7 separate regions of the Homo sapiens genome follow, and regions 1, 2, 3, 4, 5 and 7 are each linked to region 6. The links are contacts of gene promoters, found by promoter capture Hi-C in blood cells and fetal thymus (Javierre and others, 2016). All regions are on one chromosome and are shown on one strand. Each heading gives the region's core, a stretch centred on a gene start or on the middle of the fragment in contact. The rest is flanking DNA. Distances are from core to core; before and after follow the strand shown.

Region 1 (2,700 bases), core at 1-2,500, 710 kb after region 6:
TATATGTATGTATATATGTATGTATATATTTATATGTATGTATATATATAAGTATGTGTATATATATGTATGTGTGTGTGTGTGTGTATATATATATATATATATATATATATATATATATGTAGAGACATGGTCTTGCTGTGTTGCCCAGGCTGGTCTTGAACTCCTGGCCTCAAGTGAAACTCCTTCCTTGGCCTCCCAAAGTGCTGGGATTGCAGGTGTGAATCACCACACAGGGCTTGGTAACTGTGTTCAACCTTTAAAAAAACTACCACACTGTTTTACAAATTGGCTACACCATTTTATAATGCTACCAGCAATATATGAGGGTTACAGTTTCTCCACATTCTTACCAACACTTGTTTTTATTTATTTTTTTGTTTGAGACACAGTTTCACTCTGTTGCCCAGGCTGGAGTGCAGTGGCAGCTATTCAGGTCACTGAAACCTCCGCCTCCCAGGTTCAAGCACTTCTCCTGCCTCAGCCTCCCAGGTAGCTGGGACTACAGGCATGCACCACCACACCCAGCTAATTTTTGTATTACTAGTAGAGACAGGGTTTCACCATTTTGGTCAGGCTGGTCTCGAACTCCTGACCTCAAGTGATGCGCCTGCCTCGGCCTCCCAAAGTGCCGGGATTACAGGCATGAGCCATTGTGCCTGGCCTAACACTTGTTTTTAAAGGCATATGTTGTTTTATTGTGCTTCACAGGTACTGTATCTTTTTTTACAAATCTAAGTTTTGTGGCAACTCTGTGTCAAGCAAGGCTATTGGCCCCATTTTCCCAACAAGTACGCACTTCCCATTTCTATTTTACATTTTTAGTAACTTTTGCAATATTTAAAATATTTTCATTATTATTATATCTGTTAAAGTGATCTGTGATCAGTGATCTTTGATGTTACTATTATAATTGTTTTGGGGTGCCATGAACTATACCCATATAAGATGGCAAACTTAATTGATAAATGTTATGTGTGTTCTGACTGTTCCACTAACCAGCCATTCCCTTGTCTCTCTCTCCTCGAGCTTCCCTATTCCCTGAGACACAACAATATTGAAATTAGGCCAACTAATAACCCTACAGTGGCCTCTAAGTGTTCAAGTTAAAGGAAGAGAGTGGCACATCTCTCACTTTAAATCAAAAGCTAGAAATGATTAAGCTTAGTGAGGAAGGCATGCTGAAAACCAAGACAGGCTGAAACCAGGCTTCTTGCACCAGTTAGCCAAGTTGTAAGTGCAAAGGAAGACCTTGAAGGAAATTAAAAGTGCTGCTCCAGTAAACACTGGAGCACAAGAAAGCAAAACAACCTTGTTGTTGATATGGAGAAAGCTTGAGTGGTCTAGAAAGAAGATCAGACCAGCCACATCATCCATTAAGCCAAAGCCCAGTCCAGAGCAAGGCCCTAATTCTCTTCATTTCAGTGAAGGCTGAGAGATGTGTTGAAGCTGCAGAATAAAAATTTGAAGCTAGCAGAGGTTGGTTCATGAGGTTTAAGGAAAGAAGCCGTCTCTATAACAGGAAAGTGCAAGTGCTGATGTAGAAGCTGCAGCAAGGTATCCAGAAAATCTAGCTAAGATCATTGATGAAGGTGTCTACACTAACAGATTTTCAATGTAAACGAAACAGCCTTCTATTGGAAAAAGATGCCATCTAGGACTTCCATTGCTGGAGAAGAGAAGTCAATGCTTGACTTCAAAGCTTCAAAGGACAGGCTGACTCTCTTGCTAGGGACTAATGCAGCTGGTGACTTTAAGTTGAAGCCAATGCTCATTTACCATTCCAAAAATCCGAGGGTCTTGAGAATTATCTAAATCTACCCTGCCTGTGCTCTGTAAATGGAATGACAAAGCCTGGATGACAGCACATCGGTTTATAGCATGGTTTACTGACTATTTGAAGCCCACTGTTGAGAACTATTGTTGAGAGAAAAAGATTCGTTTGAAAGTATTACTGCTCATTGACAATGCACCTGGTCACCCAAAAGCTCTGCTGGAGATGTACACGGAAATTCATGTTGTTTTCATGCCTGCTGACACAACATCCATTCTGTAGCCCACGCATCAAGGAGTAATTTCAACTCTCAAGTTTTGTTATTTAAAAAACACATTTCATAAGGTTCAGCTGCTATATAGATAGTGATTCCTCTGATGGATTTGGGCAAAGTAAATAGAAAAACTTAGGGAAAGGATGCGCCATTCTAGATGCCAGGAAGAACACTCATGATTCAGGAAGAAGGTCAAAGTGTCAACATTAACAGGAGTTTGGAAGAAGTTGATTCCAACCCTCATGGATGACTTTAAGGGGTTCAAGCCTTCAGTGTAGGAAGTAACTACACATATGGTGGAAATAGCAAGAGAACTAGAATTAGAAGTGCAGCCTGAAGATGTAACTGGATTGCTGCAATCTCATAAAACTTGAATGGATGAGGAGTTGCTTTTAATGAATGAGCAAAGAACGTGGTTTCTTGAGGTAGAATCTAGTCCTGGTGAAGATGCTGTGAGCATTATTCAACTGGCAACGAGGGATTTAGAATATGACTTAAACTTAGTTGAAAAAGGAGCAGCGGGTCTGAGAGGATAGACTACAGTTTTGAAAGAAGTTCTACTGTGGATAAAATACTATCACACAACACTGCATGCTACAGAGAAGTTTTTGGTGAAAAGAAGAGTCAGTTGATGAGACAGACTTTACTGTTG
Region 2 (2,700 bases), core at 154-2,653, 620 kb after region 6:
AAGAAATAGGATCTCACTATGTTGCCCAGGTTAGTTTCAAACTCCTGGCCTCAAGTGATCCTCCTGCTTCAGGCTCACAAACGCTGGGATTACAGGCATAAGCTACTACACACAACCTAAAGGTTCCACACTCTTAGCCACACCACGACACTAGTTTGCCTCTGTTCAGTTTAATTCCTTGGAGCTAACCTCTTCCTCTAGAAAATCATGGTACCTTCAACTATAGGCACTGATCTCTTGAAGGATCTTATAGTTAATTTAATGGATCTCTAATCAACATTAAAAAAAATTAGAACAGAATAAACTACGTTGGAATAACTGTATATACTAAGGATGCTGTTCGTGAAACTTCAGTCTGTTTTACACATATGTGTATGTGTAATAGGTTGTGATGTAAGTAGCATCACAGGAGTTTGAAAGTATCTGAACGACGGAATTGAATTAGAAATTATTTCTACGATCTTTTTAACATTCTTTACAAATCAGGCACAATCTCTACCACAATGCCACTTTCTACTTAGGTTTATAGAAAATCTAACGTGCTCTGCAGAAAAAAGGAAAGCCCTTGATTTGTTCAAACTTTCTAAGTGTCTAAATGGGATAGAGGAACAAGCACCTACAAATAAAGCCTAAGATTAAACCCCACAGATTTTTACAAATTAGAAAAGAAAAAAGGAAGAAACCATGACTTTACTTTCTAGATTTTGTTTTTTGCAATCCACACGGACTCTTACACACAAACAAAACCAGAAACGCCCAGCAGAACAAAAGTAGAAAGAGAATGGGCATAAAGAGAACTCCAGGCAGGACCATCCCTGATCACGGCAAACCGGTGCTTCAGAAGCAGCACTTCAAAGAAGCAGACTCAGAGCTAGTTCCGGAGCCCTGGCAACAGTGAAGATATGACTCCATCACCTGGTACAAGAAAAGATCTCAAGTCCACCTAATAATGGTAAGATCAAAGTCCCCAAACTTTACTAGGCCAACCTGTGTAGAATTCCTTGCCCATTCACCTCCCACACACCCTGCTGACTCCTCTTCTTCAAGACTGCTCCTGGGGCTACAAGATTTCAGGTATCTCAAAACGTTCAGGGAAAAGCTCCAAAAACAAGCACAATTTTACTACACTGTTTATGAATACATAATTAGGTTATAAAACTATAAAGAGAATCAAAGTCAATGCTATAATGGTGAGGATAGTGGCTACCAGTAGAGGCATGGCAAGGAGCTGTAAATAGCTAAAAGATGTACAGATGTTAGCAAAGTTATATTTCTTTTTGTGGATGGGGGGGTCACAAAGGTGTTCATTTTACGATCTCTTATGCACTACTTTTATATCTTATGCATTTTTTTATTTGTACAAATTTGGTGGGCACAAGTGTAGTTGTATTACATGGATATATTGAGTAGTGGTAAAGTTGATAAAGTCTGTGTTTTGTTTTGTTTTGTTTTTGAGACGGAGTCTCGCTCTGTCACCAGGCTGGAGTGCAGTGGCGCGATCTTGGCTCACTGCAACCTCCGCCTCCCGGGTTCAAGCGATTCTCTTGCCTCAGCCTCCCGAGTAGCTGGGACTACAGGCGCGTGCCACCACGCCCAGCTAATTTTTGTATTTTCAGTAGAGATGGGGTTTCACCATGTTGGCCGGGATGGTCTCAATCTCCTGACCTCATGATCCCCCCGCCTCGACCTCCCAAAGTGCTGGGATTACAGGCGTGAGCAAATTCTGTTTTTAATGTACCATCACCAGATAGTGTACATTGATAGTGACCATTTCTGCGGATAAAGAACAAGTGTACATATATGTACATATATTTGCTTATTTATGAAAAAGAAAAAGCCTGGGGAAAAAAACAACAAACTAGTAACACTGTTTAATTCAAAGATTCTCTAAACCAGCACTCTCCAACCTTTTGGCACCAGGGTCCAGTTTCATAGATCAGATCAGTGATGGCATTGGATTCTCATAGGACCATGAACCCTATTGTGAACTGCACATGCAAGGGATCGAGGCTGCTGGCTCCGTGTGAGACTCTAATGCCTGACGATCTGAGGTGGAACAGTTTCATCCTTCAACCATTCTGCCAACCCTGCCCTGTCTGGGGTTGAGGACCCCTGCTCTATAAACCCTTTTATTCCCTTTGAATTTTGTGTCATGTGCATATTTCTTAAAATACACAAAATTTAAATTATAAACAAAACAAAGATATTCCAACATGATTTAAATAGCCAACAAAACTGTTTTCATTAAATGGCCTATGACAGATCTTTATAATACCATGTGCCCCTAAGAAATGCTTTTAAAATAATTATTTAATTATGTGAGGAAAAGTTTAAAAGTTATATATATAATGTGATTTCAATTTCTTTTTCTTTTTTTTTTTTTTTTTGAGACAGAGTCTTGCTGCGTTGCCCAGGCTGGAGTGCACTGGCAAGACCTCAGCTCACTACAACCTCCGCCTCCAGGGTTCAACCAATTCTCCTGCCTCACCCTCCCGAGTAGCTAGGACTACAGGCACGTGCCACCATGTCCAGCTATTTTTAGTAGAGACAGGGTTTCACCATGCCGGACAGGATGGTCTTGATCTCCTGACCTCGTGATCCGCCTGCCTCAGCCTCCCAAAGTGCTGGGATTACAGGCGTGAGCCACCTAGCCCGGCCGGATTTCAATTTCTTTAGCGAATAACCAGAAGACAAGACAGT
Region 3 (2,700 bases), core at 135-2,634, 600 kb after region 6:
CATGTCCTATCCCCTGCCTCCAGGGAGGGAGGAACTTGGGACCTCACAAGTCTCTTCCTGGCTCAGATTCTACACAGGGAAGGTTCCAAGAACATTAGAGGGAGAAGCCAGGGAGGAACATAGTTACACCCAAGGTGCCCGGCACTACAGCTCTTTTAACTTTTATGTTCTCCCCTGGAAAGCCCTTCCCCATTTCCCAGCATCATCATCAAAGGACACGACCATCTGCACACCCAGAGAGAACAAGGGGGACCCCACTGTGATGAAACCCATGTTGTTATGACAAGATTGTGTCAAAACAGAGCACACTGCCAGAAATCACATTTCCAGACTACAGAGACTGGATTCCAAACAAAGTTCACGGCCGCCAATACAGCATTAAGGAAACACATCTCAAATAAGGAGGAAAAAAAACAACTACCCCCCAGACAAACCCAAAATAGTACTGAAAGTGTATTCCTGTACACTTATTGGAATGTATTGGAAAGTGTATTCCTATACACTTATTACACTTTTTTTCACCATTGCCAAAAATGTTGTGGTTAAAGCCATTAACCGCAGTGTATTTGGCAACAGTGAAAAGCAAAAAACAACTCAATGGCCATCAACAGGATTTGATTTTGGGTTCTATATATGGTGGAATACAATGCATCTGTTAATAAGAATGAATTCAAGTAGAAAAGGCACATTTGGTTTCAAAAACACACACCTAGTTACATTGCATTTCCATTTCTTTGTAACCTAATTAACCTTATTCCAGCTCCTCGGATTTGGATACTAGAGTTGAATATCACCTTAGAAAGTCACCTGGGCAATGTAACTATGCATCAACCTGGGGGCTCCTAGGAAAGGAACCATTTCTCCTTTTGCCTGTTCTCTCCTGGTACACACAAGGCTGGGCGCTTACATGGGCTGGGGGACAGCCATGCAGAGAACAGACCATAACCCAGGAAGGCTTTGTTATTATGTATTCCTGTGGTTTTGATGATCCTTAAAAAGAACTTCAGGCAGCAACCCAAGTTTGAGCTTCTATCTTAACCAGCACTCTCTCTGCACATGGCTCTGCAGCCCACCCTACTCCCTGCCCTTCACCACTTACTGTTCAAGCTATTCGAGGCCTCTGAAAAGACAGTCCACGCTACACCTTTCTTCCTCCAAGTAATACCATTGCCAAACCTCCTGAGAACACAAAACCCGACCTTAAGCACCCACCCCCGCCCTGACAAGCAGGCTTTCTGGTCTGCCCTCCTTGTCACACTCCCGCCAGGAAAGTCATCCCACAGCCTGTCTTGCTCTACGGCCTCCAACACCTGCTCCCACCCAGATCCTGTCAGCACCTAGAATTTTACCACTTTTAATATCTGAAATCCCAAAACAAAACTCCCTAAACACAATCTCTTGTCCTACACAGTACATGTATCTATTTCCACTAGATCTGATCTTTAAGCCTGTTAAAGTTTCTCATCCCTTGACCTGCTTTGTCCAGGCTGGTGAGCCCCTGTGACAATCCTCAGTGAGGAATGTACTTCCCAATGCTCCAGCACCCACCCTCCAACTGTCCTCCTGTAGGACCCACCCACCTTGCCAACCTGCATCCAACCTTGGATGAAATTGGTCCTCCCACGTTCTCTACTCCTCCCTCTAGGCTGCCAACTGCCACTGGATATAGCCACATGGCCATGCAGCTGGCACTGTGTTAACATTACACCTTCAGCAAGGACCTTACTGCTGGAACACAGCCTTTTTCTTATCTTCAGTTATGATGCTCCCCTGTGAAGGCACATCTTTACCATCCTTGTCACACTCTCTTATCCTACCCCGCCCATCCCCTTACCCTCAATCCCATCCTAACTCGGTAACAACTGAAAACTCATCCCAACCCCCTTCCACTCACCTCCACACAGCTCTACCTGGAGCCACCCTTACCGTATGCCTGTGGCCTTGAATCCATCCCCTCTCAAGTAAGAATAAAAAGAATAGTAGTAACCATTTACCCAATGCTACTTACACACCAGTGCCTCCTACTGTGCAACTACGATCTCATTTTACCTTCATGACAGTCTCGCACAGCAGTTATAACAGGACTAAAGATATACGGGCAACCAAGGCTTACGGCCAAATGCTTCCATTGGTAAGTGGCGCAGCCGGCGTCGGCACCCACGTCTTTCTGACTCCAGCACCTGGGCTTTTAATCAGCTCATTACTTTGCTTCATCTACATTAACAACCTACAAAAACACTCAAATCCTTACCAATCTTTTTGTAAAAGGGAGGGAGTCTCCCTGACTCTCGCTTCATCAAGTTACTCCCTCATCCTTCCTTCTCCTTCTCTTTCCTGTCAAGGTTCTGTAAAGAGTGGTCCCCACAAGCCGCTGTTTCCCTCCCCTTCACTCCACAACCCAGAATTAGTCCCTTGGGATAGGGATCCAGCACTCTTCCCCAGGGCATCAGTGACAGCCTGCTGCTGAGTCCCTCAGCTTTTCCCCCACCCCAATGCTAACTCCTCAGGGCCTTTTAAAGTGCTGACCTGAGCTTCCAGGAAGCTATGTTTTGTTTATTCTCTTCCCCACTCTTACTTCCCTCCTTACTTAACTCTTGCTTTCAAGTTTTGGTGGCCTCACAGGGTTCCACCCTCCTTTCTTTGCGTTCTGCATAGTATCTGATTCCAGCCACCTTCAGCTCTTCACTGGCCCCTGCCTGT
Region 4 (2,700 bases), core at 170-2,669, 730 kb after region 6:
TAGCTTTTCTATCTTTGCAGTTAAAGATTTTCATCTTGGAAGTTATGGTTAAAAAATTTTTAAACAGTTAAAATAGTGTAGCTGTGCTTAAAGCTTCTGGTAAAAGCCAGTATGCTTTGTAGAGCCCTTATCCCCCTCCTGCTTTTTATTTGTTTTTAGCTCACTAAATAATATAAACACTGATTTTTCCATATATAGCACTGAATAAACTGTCATGCCTAAGTGTAAATCAGTCCAGCACTGTGTCATCTTTTTCTAAAGCATTCCAAGTTAAATGTCTGATGTGTAAATAACATGAAGAATCATGCTGTTAACTGTGTGAAAGATGTGGGAATTTTAATAATCATTTTCTATATTTAGAGATCAAACAAGTCTAATTCTTCAAAGCTTATGAGAATGGTTTCACTTCATATTAGATGGTGAACAATCCATAATGAACTTATATTCACCCTGTGTCCCCCTCCCGACCCCCTTGGCTCACATAGTGAGCAAATAATTTTCAGATAAATCAACTTCTCAGAACTATGCAATTGTATATACATGTCCATTACAGATGAGAGATGGATGGATTTAAGGGTTTTGTTAAAAGTATGTTTGCTATAATGGCAAAATTGAAATGGAAAGCCCATGAAATGGAAAGCCCAACCTCAACCCAGACAAGTACCTCGGTTCTGTCCCACACCAATTTAAGAACTGAAATACATGATTGACTTAGAAAAGTAAACTGACATTTCGTTCTCCTCTGAAAATACCCAAAGGTTAACTTCAGGATCACCTTGCCTAAACCTACAGTCAACTTTTTTCATCCTGTTAGAAAATCCACTTACTAAAACAGATTCATGTTCTTTGGGCAGCATGTTCATTTTCATTTTTAGATGTTGCCAGGCTGGAGTGCAGTGGCGCCATCTTGGCTCACTGCAACCTCTGCCTCCCGGGGTTCAAGCGATTCTCCTGCCTCAGCCTCCTGAGTAACTGGGACTACAGCCACGCGCCACCATGCCCAGCTAATTTTTGTATTTTGGGTAGAGACAGGGTTTCACCATGTTGGCCAGGATGGTCTCGATCTCCTGACCTCAGGATCCACCCGCCTCGGCCTCCCAAAGTGCCGGGATTACAGGCGTAAGCTACTGCGCCCGGCTGTTCATTCATTTTTAAAAGGGTAATAATATGATATGCCAGTCTGAAAGAAGAGGAGGACCTGATTTTCCTAAAGAGAAGTTATAAGAGATTGTGAGCTCATTAGGCAAAATTTGAAAGAGCTCACTAATGGTATAATTGGAAGAGAATGTTACCCATCTACCTAAGAGTAATAATTTTAAGGCAGTATTATCTTCACTACCACTGAAAAAATGACACTGAGTTAACAGAGAATAAATGGACAGCTATTTGATTTAAAAATTTTTTTATTCAAATATTAATTTTATCAAATGAAACAAGAATCTTTGATGATACTTTGATGTAAAAAAATGTTTCATTCATGTGTTTGCACTTTCCATGGTTTAATTTGTTTAGGGTAAATTGTCCAACCTGAAATATAAATTATCCCTTTGCTTAATATACTCTTTATTTCTTCAGAAACAAAAAAAAGGTAGGAATTAGTTCAAGGATGTCAATTTACTGTTTCTAGTACTAAAGTACGGCTAACTATGTAATTTATAGCCTTTAAGTGCAAATTATGGCATCAGTCAGTGGTTCCCACAACAGACCCAATCACACTTTCATACTCAAAACACAGTATATTCTTTTGCAAGTAAAAATATATAAATCAAGTTTCAAAGAACATCTTTTCAGTGCCCCTCAAGAATAGTTTACTCAGTTTGTTGATACTTTCTCTCCTGCCAGTCTTCAGTCATTAAATACCTCTAACTTAGAGAAGGCAAAATGAAATTCAAAACAATTTGAATGCTTACAGGCAAATCCTGGGAAAGAAGGGAAAATAATAATTCAAGTAACATTTCTGTGAAACTAGGAATATGGCTCCTGTGTCTGCCCATTCTCTCAATTTGGTAGAAAGGGAAAAATAAGAGCTTGCTTCAGAACAGAACAAAAAGAAAAAAATGTCTACGACTAGGTCATGGGTTTAAAAAAAAAAAAAGTACAGGCTGACAAACACTACTATATAAATTAGTCAAACATTTTATTATAGAGTATATATTTATATCAAAAGCACAAAAACGTTTATTCTGAAAACCAGGAAGATTGTGATGTTACAGAAGAAGATTCAATAATTCCAGTCCATTTCTAGGGTACTAAGTGTCTGATCACCTCAGCGAAAACAAGATACAAATGAGGCCAAGGTCACAGGTCTGGCCACCCTGAGTCCCTTCGCACTATTTGGTTTCTCAAGTTGAGACACGTATTCCCAGTCCCAGTTAGCCACCTTCCAAGTGTTTGCTACTAGCCTTAATGGGTACTTAGCCAAAGACTACACCCAAATATAACCAAAGCTTATGTTAAGTCATAAGATTAATCCTTCAATAATAAGGATAGCATAATTGGCTTTGTTACCTAATTCTACATAAACAAAATCATCAAATATCCTGGCATAACTGAAATGACTTACAGAGGAAGTAGTAAAGCTTGGAAGTATTCTATGGTAACTGAGCTGAAAAAGGGGAAATGCCAAATGTTGTAAATGCCATCATTACCAATAAGAGTCACCAAATTCTCAGAAATAGGTAATTGGCAGCTCAAGGCAGT
Region 5 (2,700 bases), core at 25-2,524, 660 kb after region 6:
TACAAAAAAATACAAAAATTATCCGGGCATGGTGGGAGGTGCCTATAATCCACCTGGGAGTCTGAGGCAAATAAAAAAAGAAGGAAAGAAAGTTCAAAATAAAGAAAGAAAAAATGTTCAAAGAAAGAAAGATCAAAAGAAAGAAAGTTCAAAAAAAAAGAAAGTTCAAAAGAAAGAAAGTTCAAAATAAAGACAAAGAATGTTCAAAATAAAGTTCAAAATAACGTTTAAAAGAAAGAAAGTTATGTTCAAAATAAGAGTATCATATTGGTAGTTATACTGATAATAAAAGTTATTATCTGTAATCTTATATAAAGTATAGAAGAGTAAATTTTGTCCTGAGCATATTTTATTAGTGCCTTTCTGTTCTCTGCTGCCTAGGGAGACTAGATATAGCAAGATCACTGCTTTATTTATTTATTCAGAGCTGGGGTCTTGCTCTGTCACCCAGGCTGGAGTGCAGTGTCATAATGATAGCTCACTGCAGCCTCAAACTCCTGGGCTCATGCGATCCCAAGTAGCTTGTACTACAGGCACACGCCATCGTGCATAGCTAATTCTTGTTATATTTTTTGAAGATGGATCTTGTTATATTGCCCAGGCTGGTCTCAAACTCCTGGCCTCAAACAGTCCTCCTGCCTCAGCCTCCCGAGTAGCTGAGATTACAGGCATGAGCCACTGTACCCCACCTCATGGTAAATTAAATGTCTGTTCAGAGGACTGAACAATTTCACTGCTGGTGAGAGACAAGAAGGAGGTTTTCTTAGAATTTTTTAAACTTTAAACATGTGCTTGGCATGGCATGCCTGGGAGCTTTGAATTCAGGTAGGTCATTCCTTTCCTTGTTGGATGTCTTCCTCCACCATAAGCTATCTGCAAGCTAGATTCCCAGAAAGGCCAATGGTGTAGTTTAGTCCACGTCTGAAGGTTTGACAGCCGGAGGCTCAAAGGTCCAAGGGCAGGAGAAGATGGTTAGCCTAGCTCAAGCGTGAAAGATCAAATTTGTCTTTCCTGTGACCTTTTGTTCTATTTGGGTCCTCAGCGCATTGGATGAGGCCCACCCACATTGGTGAGGGAGATGTTCTTTACTTAGTCTACTAATTCCAATGTTAGTCTCTTCTGGAAACATTCTCACAGACACACTCATAAATAATGCTGCTGTTGTTGAGACAGGGTCTTGCTGTGTTGTCCATGCTGGAGTGCAGTGGCACAATCTTGACTCACTGCTGCCTTGACCTCCTGGGATCAAGCAATTCGCCCACCTCAGCCTCCCAAGTACCTGGGACTACAGGCATGTGTCACTATGCCCAGCTATTAATAATTTTTTTGTATTTTTTGTAGAGACGAGGTTCCACCATGTTGTCCAGGCTGGTCTCAAACTCCTGAGCTCAAGCAATCTGCCTGCCTCAGCATCCCAAAGTGCTGGGATTACAGACATGAGGCACCATGCCGGGCCAATAATGTTATCTGGGCATCCATTAACCCAGTCAAGCTGACACATAAAATAAACCATCACAATATAAGTCAAATCATTTTGCATTCTCACCTGCAACATAGGAAATTACCTCTTTTTCCACAATGTCACTAAAAAAGTATACTGTTTAACGTTCATATGTTTGCCAGTCTGACAGGTGATAAATGAGATTTCTGTGTATTTTTCATTGACCAAAAACTTTCTCTCTCAAAAAAAGGACATAATTTCAAAATACAATATAGCCCTTTGAATTGAATACATTTAGATTTATGCAAACCTCACTACATGTTCACATTTTTATCATTTTTCTCTAGGCTGGTGAAGACTTGTTCACAGATCAGCATCAGTCTGAAGAATATAGAAACCATTGCTCTGGCCAGTGCTTCTCAACCACACAGATAATATAATAATATTTGTAAGCACTCTCGAGTAGAAGAGTGAGGATGCTCATCACCAAAGACAGCAGGCTTAAGAGTCTGACCACCCCAAGACTCTGCCTCGCCATCCCAAAGAGAAGACCTTTAATATTTCCACACATCTGGAATCCATACCTGTTGCAAATCTCTGTATTAGAAACCCAACCCAGTCCATGATACATGGATTCTTGTTAGTGTTCATCTCAGAAGTATGCCTTTTCCTTACATTGAGTTAGGACTACATCTTCCTCTGGGGACTTTTGTCCTCTAACTGCAGTAATACTGAAACAACTTAAGAGGACAAAGACCAAATCGTTTTCAAGCCCCATGAAGCATTTCAAAAGTTCTACTCACAACAGGCCCCGGTGTGTGATGTTCCCCTTCCTGTGTCCATGTGTTCTCATTGTTCAATTCCCACCCATGAGTGAGAACATGCGGTGTTTGGTTTTTTGTCCTTGCAATAGTTTGCTGAGAATGATAGTTTCCAGCTTCATCCATGTCCCTACAAAGGACATGAACTCATCATTTTTTATGGCTGCATAGTATTCCATGGTGTCTATGTGCCACAGAGTGGGGAGGGATAGCATTAGGAGATGTACCTAATGCTAAATGACGAGTTAATGGGTGCAGCACACCAACATGGCACATGTATACATATGTAACAAACCTGCACATTGTGCACATGTACCCTAAAACTTAAAGTATAATAATAATAATAATAAAACAAAGAAAGAAAAAAAAAGTTCTACTCACATCTAAGTTTTTCTCTCTTTTTTTTTTTTTTTTATTTGAGACAGAGTGTCGCTCTGT
Region 6 (2,700 bases), core at 153-2,652:
GTGTAAAAACAAACAAAAAAAAGAAATGGTGTGCTGGATATTTTCTATTTCTCCCTCCAGGCATTGTGCCTAGTAGGCTGACCTCTACAGACTACACAGACCTAGCTCCACTGTCTTCTGGCTTCCTGGTGGATCCAGCCAGCGGAAGACCCCAGCTGGATATCAGAGCTGGGAGAACAGAGAGGTGGGTCTTCTCCACTCTGTCCCTGCTTTGGGCTGACGTCTCAGCACTGGCTACAACTATAGAATCTCACCTTACTTGGTGAAAAGTTGGCATTGCTTGCTTTCCTCTACTGAACGACACGGTTCCAGTTGGTTACTCTCTCGTACAGCCACAGCTACCGCTCTCGCTCTCGCCTGGTTTTAGTAACTGCTTCCTTCCCCCACCCCTCAGCCCTATAGTTACTAACAGCTCCCCGCTGTTACTGGTTACTACTGGTTACGGAAGGCGAACTATGTGCCCGACACTGTGCTAAATGCCCACATATATTATCTTTTAGTCCTCACAATCCAATAAATTAGATGGCTTTAGTCCTGTTGCAGAGGTGATAAATTCAGAGTGACAGTGACAGAGCTAGAAATTGAAGGTAGGTGTGTTTATGCTAGAGTCTGTGCACTCAAACACGATTCCTTACTTCTTGCATCAGTTGTTAACCTCCCTTCAAGAGTGTCAAACCTCCTGGTAACCCGCCCATTCCCTTAACTGGAAATGAGGGTGCTGTTGCAATTTTCTCATCCAGCCATTCCACAAATGGTATCTGGAATGTGGGACCCACAGTCCAGAATCCTGAGGGCTGCTGTTGAGAGCATCAAGACGCGCCCAGGAGGTCAGGGCGGTGTGCACTCACACGCTGAGCCTGGAGAAAGTTAGACGCCTTCTCCACCGCTGTGGTGGTTAGCAGGGACTTTCCTGAAGGCCAGAGACTGGTGACGTTCATGCTATTTTTCCAAGCCATTTGGTAGCAAAGAACAGAGTGCCAACAATTCAAGCATTCTCTCAGGCTGGGAGAGAGACGTGGCTTATTCAAGATAGAAATTGCTGGTGAGGTTGAGGCGAGACCGACATCTCTCTGAGCAGCAGGGGAGAAAGACGGCTCTGTTCAAAAAAGAATGGGTAATTTCAGTCAATTCTCTTCTTTCTCGTTTCTGTCTTATCTTTATGACTTTTTAATAGTGCCAATTTAACAGATGAGGGGACAGAGGCCTTTAATTGAGAATTCCACTCCGCTTCCTCTGCCTCATCTCAAAAATCTGGCAGCTGAGTCGCCGCGGCTTTGAATTTGCCTCTTTTGACCTTCCCCTCCCACCTCTGGTAACACTGAGCCTGGCCCGGAAGGACACACCCGGCTTCTGGCGGAAGTGCCGGCTCTTTAAAGAAGCTGAGGGCTGCGCGAATTGGCTGAGGTGCGTCATCTACTGTGTCTGGGCGCCAATCCCGACGCTGGGCGGAGCGAGGCCCGGTCCCTGCAGCGGGCGAAAGGAGCCCGGGCCTGGAGGTTTGCGTACCGGTCGCCTGGTCCCGGCACCAGCGCCGCCCAGTGAGTGAACACCGGCCGCAGGCGGGTGGGGAGAAGGGTCAGCCCGGCCATGTCAGTCAGCGCGATCTCCTGGGCTCCGGGCTTGCCAGGCAGCGCTGGGCGCCCGCTCCTCGTGAGCGCCGGCTCTTGGCTCTCGCACTGCCCCTGGTGCTGATAGGTATTGCCAACTTCGTTCCATTAGAGCGCGTTCTTGTCGCCTGGCGTGGACTCCGGATCTCTCCGTAGCTTTAAAATAGAGTTGAGAAAAACAGGCACAGTGCTCTCAACAGAAATCAGCACACTATTGCGGGGAATACCTAAATTACAGTAACTGGCCTCAGGGAGCAAGGGCGGTGTTAATTACAGAAAACCTCCGGAAGCTGTGGGCTCTGGGCTGGAATTTGCAAGGGGATGTGGCTTAATTTCAATGGGATGCAAATATTGAAAATGACTGTGGTGAGACGATCAGTCATACATTCAGGCAATGTGTCATCTGATCGGGAAATAAGTCAGCGTGGTAATCCCGATGACAGAATTCATGCAATTAATTTTTTATGTCCCCCCAAGTAAAATCAAATCTAGGTACTCACGGGTGACCGGAAGAAAGGTTGTCTGGAACTTGCAGGCACCACTTCTCCTCCCCAGAAATACACCTTCCCATAGTAATCTATAGCTCACCTGAGGCAGGGCTGAAGCATTAAAGACCCCTTCCAAGATCTCAGAAGGAATCAAAGGGAAAATGAAGACAGAGGGATTGAAATCAGCATTCTCTGCAAAACATCACTCTGAGACACAGTGATGTTTAAAATTGTATAAGTAGCAAGACATTTTTTTTTACCCCTGGTGAAAAGTGTTAGAATTTTTAAAAGACTTAACTTATACAAGTGAGTGAAATCAAAGTTATCCCTATTGCAAGGTCAATTTTGCTTATTTTCTGATACATATTTTGTGAGCAAGAGGAGATAGCTGAAAGTGTTCTGGACACCCTACGGAATATTCCCAGACTTTGGGAAATGACTTTGCCAGGAATGGGGAAGTTGGGAAAGGAAAGAATGTTGAAAATACTGAACTCCAGGGTGAAATTTACAAGGTGTGATGCATTTATTTATTCTCAGGTGTGGTTTCCCATAAGGAAGCTCTTCTTCCTGCTTGGCTTCCACCTTTAACCCTTCCACCTGGGAGC
Region 7 (2,700 bases), core at 161-2,660, 750 kb after region 6:
AGATTATAAAAATAAAGTTTATTTATTATGAAGAATTTTTAAAATCCGGAAAATAAAAGTTAGCTGTAATTCTACCACAAGAGATTACTGTTAACATTTTGATGTATTTCCTTCCAGGCATATTTTTGAATGACTTTTTAAAAAACCAAAATTAAGGCTCAGAGTGGTGGCTCACGCCTGTAATCCCAGCACTTTGAGAGGCCGAGGCGGGCGGATCATTTGAGGTCAGGAGTTCAAGGCCAGCCTGGCCAACATGGTGAAACCCCATCTCTACTAAAAATACAAAAATTAGCCAGGCGTGGTAGCAGGCGCCTGTAATCCCAGCTACTCGGGAGGCTGAGGCAGCAGGAACGCTTGAACCCGGGAGGCGGAGGTTGCAGTGAGCTGAGATCACACCACTGTACTCCAGCCTGGGGGACAAGAGCGAGATTTCGTCTCAAAAAAAAAAAAAACATTAAAATCATATACATTTTCTATTCATTTCACTTCATATGTAAGAGTGCTTTATATTAAATGTTTTTCAAAAATAAGATATTGATATGTTTTTTAAAAGCAATGAACAATTACATTGAAGAGGTTGTAAATATTCATAGTCAGAACAAACGAAAAAACTTCTATCATAGTATTTGAGCAAACTTTTATAGCTCTTGGTAAAATTTCCAGTGACAACATCCTACACAGATTAAAAAAAGCTGAATCACAGCTAACTTTGGCTGAAAGTGAAGATGATGTGCTCTGAAAATTAGATGACTCAAAAAGCAGCTCTGATGACCATAAAGCCAGTGATGTCAAACATGCATATAACTGTGAATATAACGGTTGTGAAATTTAAGAGATAAAAGCCTTTGTTTTTAAATTAATATTTTATATTTATAAAACGTGAATTAACTAAATTAATAAACTAAATACAAATGTAGAGGAAAAAGTCAGATTTCAATGCTTTATAATAGTCCATGATATATTGTACCATTTACCACTAGGTGGTAAATTCCACCTAATTGTAAGGGTAAAAGCAGCACAAGAAAGGCAGTCAACAAATTGTATAAGGGAAAAGTTAGGAAAAACTCTGAAGAATATAAGTACAAATAAGACCACAGAGAAACATGGGTGTAAAGCCCCTATAGCCCTATACAGCCCCCACACACACCAGGCCCGTGTCAACCAAGAGTCCAGAATGCAATCCAAGTCCAGAAAGCCTCCAACTGGAAGCTTTAATTACATCTCCTATTGCAGATGTGTTTAGAAGAGTATACCAGAAGCCATTATCCTAAGCAAACTAACAAAGGAACAGAAAACCAAATACCGCATATTCTCACCTATAAGCGGGAGCTAAATGATGAGAATACATGCACACATAAAGGGGAACAACACACACTGGAGTTTACCGAAGGGCGGAGGGTGGGAGGATCAGGAAAAATAACTAATGAATACTAGGCTTAATACCTGGGTGATGTAATAATCTGTACAACAAATCCCCAAGACACACGCTTACCTATGTAACAAACCTGCACATCCTGCACATGTACCCCTGAATTTAAAACAAAAGTTAAACAACAACAAAAAAACAAAATAAAGGAGTATACCAATATAGTCATCATTTTGGTAAGCTTTCTTCTTTCATCACAATAAGCATACAACAGAAATCTTCCATCAAGCAGGCATAGCCACAAATTTTCACTGTCTTGTGTCACACCTCTATCAACTCTGTGCCATAATTCAGTCCACAGGGATTATTATCTCATCATTCCCCATGACTACAAGTTGGTCCACTCTCCACTGATGGAACTTGGTAAAGCAGAAATTGCAGGTATTCCAGGTCTCTTGTTAAGATATATCTATTCCAGAGTGGGAAATAAAACACATGAACATTTTGAGAGCCTACTACCTTTGTAACATTCCTGGGGATCCAGTGTGCTGTGGCAAGTAATATATCTCCTTTGAAGTTAAAGACAACATGCATTTTCAGTAAGAAACAGGCACATTGTGACTCTGGGAATGGCTATTGGTCTGGCTGGGTGTGAAAACAGCAAGGCTCTGATATTTATTACAAGATAGTATATTGGAAGTTCACAACACGTAACAGCAAAATGATTGCTTATTAATCACCTGTGGATGTTAAGTCAGTTTTTTTCCTCAACTATCTCATTATTTGCACAATAGTTTCATAAATTCAGGGGTCGTGGTGGCATAGGTTTGTGATTATGCATAGATTCGACAGTGTAGACTCTCCCCTCAAGGATGTTCTAGTATCCTAATCCAGTTTAGCCACTGAACACCTAATTTACTAGTAGCGAAAAACACCAAAATCTCAATACGGCACAATGCACTGCAGAGATCAGCCAGCCATCAAGTAGCAGGTTGACTACCCTGGTCCCACTTCATCTCAGAGGGACTGGTAATTCCTCACTTGAACGAGCCCACTCTAGATGTGGAAGTGCCCTCCCTCCTTGCCATGCTTCTAATCAGTAATACATCTGTAGTCTTACTAAATGAATTATTCACCATACCACACTATTTTTTGACCCAGAAACTCATTTTACAGCAAAAGAAATGAAGACTGTAGGGTTCATGAAATTCACTGTTCTCATCACGAACATCACTACCCAGAAGCAGGTTTTATAAAATGCTGAAGATACATAGTGCCAGATGGGTTACAACACTTTGTGATATTTGGATATTTTCCTACACAAAATTGCTTCT

Evidence for each region. The method cuts DNA at HindIII sites, captures the fragments that hold promoters and counts their contacts. A CHiCAGO score of 5 or more calls a contact.
Region 1: a fragment that was not itself captured here is called in contact with the fragment with the promoter of PLGRKT in region 6 in 1 of 17 cell types (erythroblasts); the score reaches 5.0 in erythroblasts.
Region 2: a fragment that was not itself captured here is called in contact with the fragment with the promoter of PLGRKT in region 6 in 1 of 17 cell types (neutrophils); the score reaches 5.6 in neutrophils.
Region 3: a fragment that was not itself captured here is called in contact with the fragment with the promoter of PLGRKT in region 6 in 1 of 17 cell types (neutrophils); the score reaches 5.6 in neutrophils.
Region 4: a contact is called between a fragment that was not itself captured here and the fragment with the promoter of PLGRKT in region 6, in 1 of 17 cell types (erythroblasts). The highest score is 5.8, in erythroblasts.
Region 5: a fragment that was not itself captured here is called in contact with the fragment with the promoter of PLGRKT in region 6 in 1 of 17 cell types (neutrophils); the score reaches 8.3 in neutrophils.
Region 7: a fragment that was not itself captured here is called in contact with the fragment with the promoter of PLGRKT in region 6 in 1 of 17 cell types (neutrophils); the score reaches 6.0 in neutrophils.

Annotation. Positions count from the first base shown.
Region 1 is chr9:4,726,254-4,728,953 of GRCh38, reverse strand. All of the region lies in intron 1 of AK3 (adenylate kinase 3), which reads left to right. Among named protein-coding and RNA genes, the nearest start is that of AK3, 14 kb to the left of the region's middle. The HindIII fragment of the contact is 170 bases long and covers 1,166-1,335 here.
Region 2 is chr9:4,818,559-4,821,258 of GRCh38, reverse strand. The region is part of intron 1 of RCL1 (RNA terminal phosphate cyclase like 1); the gene reads right to left. Among named protein-coding and RNA genes, the nearest start is that of RCL1, 27 kb to the right of the region's middle. The HindIII fragment of the contact is 7,813 bases long and covers 1-2,700 here.
Region 3 is chr9:4,835,164-4,837,863 of GRCh38, reverse strand. All of the region lies in intron 5 of RCL1 (RNA terminal phosphate cyclase like 1), which reads right to left. Among named protein-coding and RNA genes, the nearest start is that of MIR101-2, 14 kb to the left of the region's middle. The HindIII fragment of the contact is 3,218 bases long and covers 1-2,700 here.
Region 4 is chr9:4,707,085-4,709,784 of GRCh38, reverse strand. CDC37L1 (cell division cycle 37 like 1, HSP90 cochaperone) reads right to left here. Exons shown (of 7, transcript NM_017913.4): 7 at 1,386-2,700. It overlaps AK3 (adenylate kinase 3), which reads left to right. Exons shown (of 5, transcript NM_016282.4): 5 at 1-229. Among named protein-coding and RNA genes, the nearest start is that of CDC37L1, 29 kb to the right of the region's middle. The HindIII fragment of the contact is 2,060 bases long and covers 390-2,449 here.
Region 5 is chr9:4,774,913-4,777,612 of GRCh38, reverse strand. No RefSeq gene overlaps it. Among named protein-coding and RNA genes, the nearest start is that of RCL1, 17 kb to the left of the region's middle. The HindIII fragment of the contact is 6,914 bases long and covers 1-2,700 here.
Region 6 is chr9:5,436,627-5,439,326 of GRCh38, reverse strand. PLGRKT (plasminogen receptor with a C-terminal lysine) reads left to right here and starts at 1,402. Exons shown (of 6, transcript NM_018465.4): 1 at 1,402-1,538; 2 at 2,633-2,700. RefSeq lists enhancers at 36-195, 1,756-1,845, 901-2,100. The HindIII fragment of the contact is 16,310 bases long and covers 1-2,700 here.
Region 7 is chr9:4,690,025-4,692,724 of GRCh38, reverse strand. All of the region lies in intron 3 of CDC37L1 (cell division cycle 37 like 1, HSP90 cochaperone), which reads right to left. Among named protein-coding and RNA genes, the nearest start is that of CDC37L1, 12 kb to the right of the region's middle. The HindIII fragment of the contact is 398 bases long and covers 1,212-1,609 here.